Linked DNA regions of Homo sapiens: region 2 is linked to region 1. The links are contacts of gene promoters, found by promoter capture Hi-C in blood cells and fetal thymus (Javierre and others, 2016). All regions are on one chromosome and are shown on one strand. Each heading gives the region's core, a stretch centred on a gene start or on the middle of the fragment in contact. The rest is flanking DNA. Distances are from core to core; before and after follow the strand shown. Region 1 holds the start of SEL1L (SEL1L adaptor subunit of SYVN1 ubiquitin ligase). Region 2 overlaps STON2 (stonin 2).

Evidence for each region. The method cuts DNA at HindIII sites, captures the fragments that hold promoters and counts their contacts. A CHiCAGO score of 5 or more calls a contact.
Region 2: a contact is called between a fragment that was not itself captured here and the fragment with the promoter of SEL1L in region 1, in 1 of 17 cell types (monocytes). The highest score is 5.9, in monocytes.

Annotation. Positions count from the first base shown.
Region 1 is chr14:81,532,493-81,535,693 of GRCh38, reverse strand. SEL1L (SEL1L adaptor subunit of SYVN1 ubiquitin ligase) reads left to right here and starts at 1,841. Exons shown (of 21, transcript NM_005065.6): 1 at 1,841-2,019. The coding sequence starts at 1,950. RefSeq lists a silencer at 1,718-1,837 and an enhancer at 1,554-2,053. The HindIII fragment of the contact is 11,079 bases long and covers 1-3,201 here.
Region 2 is chr14:81,297,030-81,300,081 of GRCh38, reverse strand. All of the region lies in intron 5 of STON2 (stonin 2), which reads left to right. Among named protein-coding and RNA genes, the nearest start is that of GTF2A1-AS1, 77 kb to the right of the region's middle. The HindIII fragment of the contact is 3,420 bases long and covers 1-3,052 here.

The sequences.
Region 1 (3,201 bases), core at 592-3,091:
GACGTACTCAGTAAAGACAAAACTGAAAAAAGAAGTTGGGGCTTAACTAAGCAGCAAACTTTCCCCAGTTTTAATCAAACAGATAATCACTGGCTCTTCTGTAGAAGGCAGAAGTTTCTTCCCTGGTACTTCCCCAACAGAGTAGAACTGTCAGCACAGTTCCTATTTTGTGAGTAGAATAAGTTCTAATTTTTTTTATTCTGTGAAAAGTGTAGCCATTGAAAATTTTCAATAGGCATATGAAAGCAGTGTTTAAGGAAAATTAATATGGCCATGATATGTGATTCAGGTTAAAGGGAGAATGATGTCAGTGAGTATGGCTGGAACTCAGGTGCATCATCCAGGTGAGAGAAAATGAAAGCCATTAGGGGAGTTTTCAGTGAGGAAGAGAACAGAGGTACATAATAAAATAAAACAATTTAAAAGTTACATAGTTTAAACTGATAGAACTTGATTATCAATAAGATGAAAAAGAAAGGAAAATATACCAGATTTTACTCTATGATTTATAATCAGAGGAACTCAGAGGGAACATTGTTAGTGACAGAAATGGTGATGTAGCTGAAAAGACAAGTTTTTGGAGGAGATAATTCTTTCCTTCATCTCCTCCGATGTGAATGAGAAACAGTGGTTGGTTTTTTACCATCTTCCTGAAAATAAAAGGCTGTATCTCAAAAAACAAAAAACAAAAAACAAAAAAAAAAAGGAAGGAAGACAAATGCCCAGAAGTGTTAAGACACATGGCCAGCAGAGACTTTTCCAAAGTCCTTCACTTGGCTGGACTAGGTTCTAGGCCTTAGAGCTGACTGTGGGTGGATGACAGGGAAAGCAGAATGACACGGTTTGAGAAAAGAAAGGGCAGGCACACCAAGTCACTGCTCTGCTACTCAGTTGGAACATGCCTGGATTTCGTGCTTATTACATAGAGTATTTCCGTGCCTGCGATGCAATCACTATCACCTCTACCTCCACACACGTGAACCTGGTCTCCTGACTTTAGTTAGGAAAGAAGAGAACAATGCAACTCACAAGAGGAGAAGGATGAGGACAAGTGTTTAAAATAATTTTTCAAAGCTGTTGGCACATTTTCTTTATGATTATTGTCTGGTGAACCTAGTGAAAATAAATACTGTATTGAGATAATCTGTGCCGAGCGGATTTATTTCCTTTTGTTTTGTCGGAGAAAGGAGGACAGGTACTGAGTTGCACCCTGGTTTCCGTACTTCACGGTACTGTTTTATCTAAGTTTTAAAAAACACCTCAAATTCAACTAGCTGTGGCATTTTTCTCAGTGCTCTTATCACTATGCCCAATTTAAATTTTTTAAATAAAACAGGAAAAGATGCTAAACACATTACAAGTTCTTAAAATTATTCCTTAATATTTATTTTGGGTCAATTTAAAAAGGCTTGTGAATCCATAGCCTTGAGTTAATATTTAGCCCAGGTGTTAGTTAAATTCTAACTTCAACAGTCACCCGCACTTGTAAATCTTGCCCTACGATGGACTACGTTTCCCAAGAGCACCCCCCGAGTTAATCACATGAAGCGCATTCTGGGAATTGTAGTCTCGGATGAGCCTCTTTCTCCCAGTCTTGGACTCACGCGCTGATTCCGGTTGAACCCAGGGGCTACCAATTAGCTGGGGCCATGTCCGTGAGTCGTGGTCCAACCGAGAAAGCTGGTGTGGGAGCTTCGTACAATGATTGGCCAATGAATGACCCCCGGGGCGGAGCAATGGGGGTGGGCGGGGAGACCATGGTGATTGGACCAGAAGCCCGCGACGGCGGGCGGGGATTGGCTGCGCGCTGGGTCAGGGAAGCCTGGGAAGGGGCGGAGGAAGGAGACTAGAGCAGGAAGAGCAGCGGCGAGGCGGCGGTGGTGGCTGAGTCCGTGGTGGCAGAGGCGAAGGCGACAGCTCTAGGGGTTGGCACCGGCCCCGAGAGGAGGATGCGGGTCCGGATAGGGCTGACGCTGCTGCTGTGTGCGGTGCTGCTGAGCTTGGCCTCGGCGTCCTCGGGTCAGTATCCGCCCCCTCGGGCTGAAGGCCCAGAGCCTCCGCCCCCCAGCCTCTACAGCCGGCGGGGCCGTGGGGACTCCAGGCTCGGGACCCCGTTCTCCCTGGGCACATCTCGCACTGGGCTGTCACTCGCTCTTTGGCTTTGCTTGGCCTGCGCCAAAGGGGCTATTTAGGAAGGTGGAGTGGGGTGGAAAAAGAAGGGGCGGTCACCCTGCCCACACCTCTCTCCCACGTAACAAACTTTGCGCGACTCTTCTCACGAACGCGGAATTGACTCCAAAGGAATGAATCCTGATACAGGAGCCCGAGTGGAGCTTCCTCGACCCTGGGGTAGAGGAAGGGTCTGGTCTAGAACTCTGGGCTTGGGAATTGTAAGTTAAATAATTGACAAACCTGGAGCTGTCACTTTGGGGCAGAGGAGGATCCATCCAGACCAGGATGTTGACAGTAGTTTGCTTAACACCTGAGATGGTCCCTGGTCTGTCTGTTTAAAAACGAAGACTTTTGATCTCATCGTAGCCACTTTTTACTTTTTTGAAACCTTCCTGAGAAAGCGGTGACCTGTCACAGTGTTTCTGAGTTGCCCCATGTTTGTTGACAGTCATTTTATGATGTTTGGGAAAATCTTGGTTCTTATAAGATGCGTTTTATATAGATACAGAAATTTGTGTGCTTTTGAATTGATTTTCCAGTTAGCTAATGTTTATTCTGGTTCTGCTTTTTTCCCCCTTTTTTAATGTTTTAATCTGCCTACATTTGAAAATTTCCATTTTGAGAGTGTTCATGAAAACTTCGTGTTTCTAAGTGTTGATAAATAAAAATTAGTACAGTAAAACTTTGGAATTTTAATCAGTTTCAGTTAACAGGACAGGTGTTCTGTGGCTTGACGTTTTGGGGGGACAACACGGAGTATAAATGTCAGCTTTTTCTTTTTTTAATAAATGTCAGCTTTTTTTTAACAGAAAATTTCCCAGATGGTTATCTGAATCCCCAAATTACCTGTCCTAGTTGTAAATCAATGCCATAACGTCATTCTGCTTCTAAAATAAGAGGCTTAAACCTAAATTCTATCCATGATGTGGTTTGAGATACCATTTCAAAAGCACCAACCCTATGCTAATTACTTTACTGCCAACATCATTCTTTCAGGTCCACTCCCCTCCCTCCAGTAGTAGTGATGGT
Region 2 (3,052 bases), core at 212-2,711, 240 kb after region 1:
TCTTAATTACTGAAACTTTATAGTCAATCTTGAAATTTGGTAGTTTTGAGTCCTACAACATTTTTCTTCTTTGAGATTGTCTTGGTGATTGATAGGCTTTGATAGAAATTGACCAACTATCAAAAAAATTTTTTTAAGCCTGGGAGTTTTTATTGGAATCATATTGATTCTATAGATCAATTTAAAAAAAAAAAAAATTTTTTTTCCATCTTAACAATTTTGAGTTTTCAAATCCATGAACATGAAATCTCTCCATTTATTTAGGCCTTCTTTAACTTCTCTCAACAGTGAAGAGGCCTTACACATCTTTTATTAAGTTTACTTCTATGTAGTTGATATTTTTATGCTATAGTAAACAATATTTTTAGAGGTCTTATTTCCAGTTGACTTGTTACTAGTATTTTAATATATAATTGAGTTTTTAAAGAATGACTTTGTATCCTGAGGACTTGCTGTATTCAGTTTTACAATTATTTTTACTTTTGTTAAGAAGGTTGATAAAGGAAAAACTGAAAACAGCAACAGCCCAAAATGCTCATAAGTTAGCCACAGGGCTCAACCTCTTTCTTTTACTTTTTATTCCTTTTTCTTGCCTTGTTGCAATGCCTAAGGACTCCATTACAACGCTGAATAGGTGAGACTGGGAGGAACACTTTCAATATTTCACCATTGTGATGTTAGCTGAGGGTTTTCTTTTTGTATATGCCCTTTATCAGGTTGAGGAAGTTCCCTTCCATTCTTAGTATGGTGATAATAGTATTACTATTACAGTTAATGTAAGTTAAATTTTACCATACTTTTTCTACCTTTATTGAGATAGTCTCACATATATGTTTGTATAACACGTTAATTCTGTGCATGTATGGGTAACTTCTGCAATATTCCTGGTGGATGCAGAAGAGTTGCCTAAGACAAGCCCAGGCATGTGGTTTAAAGTGACCACCATGATTCTAGTACCAAATACAGTTTGGTGTCACTTGATCTGAGCCATGTGGCTAGAACTTATGAGTGTTTTGGGCTGTTGCTATTTTCAGTTTTTCCTTTATCAACCTTCTTAACAAAACAGATGTCTCTTATTTTGGTGGTAGAGGTGGGACTTTGGGTACTTTTTATGTCGTTCTCTTGTCTGTATTTTCTAAATTTCTTTAGTGACATGGATGAATTGTGTTTTAAAAAGTTTTAAAATTCTATATAATTAATTAGATTACAGATTAATACACTTCAAACACATTTCTACCAAGTCTTTCTAAAATTATATCCAACTCACCTTGCTTGGATATGGGTGTTTCTTAAATCTCTGAGAGCAACATATTCACAAACCATTTCGTGGTGGGTGACTAAGGATTTCTCTGTTGATCCTTTAATCATTTAATTTTAGAAGGTGCTCATTTTTTCATCTGTCCCAACTTCAGTTTCCTGGATGAAACTCCTAGCATGGTTCTGTTCAACATGCTTTTCTGTAGTTTCTCTTCCTTGGGAACTTACCAGAGCAGGAAAATAAACACCAACAGATTGTGTGTGTCATGACAGAGGTATATAGATCAGGGATTTCAGCCGCGCTTGGGAATTTAATGACTTGCAACAGATGGAGTCTGAGTCCAGGGTGACTTTGCTCAGGGGTAATTCTTAGTAAGTTTGGCTTTTAAATTCTGTGATTCCCCCCCCCCATCTGAAGCAGTTGAGGCTTTAGAGGCCTGGAGCTAGAGGAAGCCTCCCTCAGACTAGTCTGTGGATGACAGCCCTAGGATGTGGAATAGGGATTGGAGATAGACTGTTATTTCCAGCTGCTGTGCTTTGTTTTTGTGGAACAGGAAGTCATTATCTGGAGATTCACAATTTCTTGATAGCTCATTTCTCCTTCCTGGAAGGGCACCCGCATCTAGAATAGGCTTCATCGCTGGAATTATAGAGCCCCCACAAGGAGCTCTATTTGACTCCTTTTTTTCTTTCTAATTACAGATTCCTGATAGAAGGAATGTTTTCTCCTCTTTCTCAGTACTTAATGTGCATGGCAATAAATATCAGTTATTATTATTTTTCTTTTGAGACAGAGTTTTGCTCTTGTTGCCCAGGCTGGAGTGCAATGGCGCCATCTTGGCTCACCACAACCTCTGCCTCCCAGGTTCAAGCGATTCTCCTGCCTCAGCCTCCCGAGTAGCTGGGAGTACAGGCATGCGCCCCAAACCCATCTAATTTTGTATTTTTAGTAGAAATGGGGTTTCTCCATGTTGGTCAGGCTGGTCTCAAACTCCTGACCTCAGGTGATCTGCCCGTCTCGGCCTCCCGAAGTGCTGGGATTACAGGCGTGAGCCACTGTGCCCAGCTGGCCAGTTATTTTTATTACTTTCTATTGATTATTAAAGTTAGAAAGTTTTATACTATACGAAGCAAAACAAACCTCAAACCTCAAAATGAATGAATAAGTGCTCCTTGTCATTTTTTACCAGTAATAATGAAAATAATTTAAATCATATAGCATGCCATATTTTACAGTAGCATTCACATGTCTTATTTGGTCCTCACAACCATATTGTGGGGCATAGGAAATATCATTATCCTCCTTAAAAGTGAGGAAACAGACTCAGAAATTGAGAAATTTGCTCAAGATTGGACAGTTCTAACAATGTAGAGCTACAGTCCAAATGCTGCAGTATACCAGAGTGGTTAAGACTAAGGGTTGCCAACTCAGACCTCTTGGGTTCAGATCCTAGCTCTTCCTCTTACTAGCTTTGTAACTTTGGCCATGTCACCTAACCTCTGTGCCTTAGTGTCCCCCCTTACTAAAATAGAGGTAATGGAGACTTACCTCATACAGATGTCTCCTAGATCAAATGAGATCATTTTGGTATAGCTCTAGACAGACCAGCTGGCATACAGTACCTGGTTGGTGAGGGTCAGCCAGGCCACTACTTGTCTTGGAGGCAGCGGTGGTAGATTTTTATCTTTCCGTCCTTCCAGCTACCTCTCCTGCCTTGAAACCTGAAGTCAACTCCAGGAGTCACCAAAGTGCCTGACACACTCCGGAAGTCCCCAAGGGCCCTGTAGGGTTAGA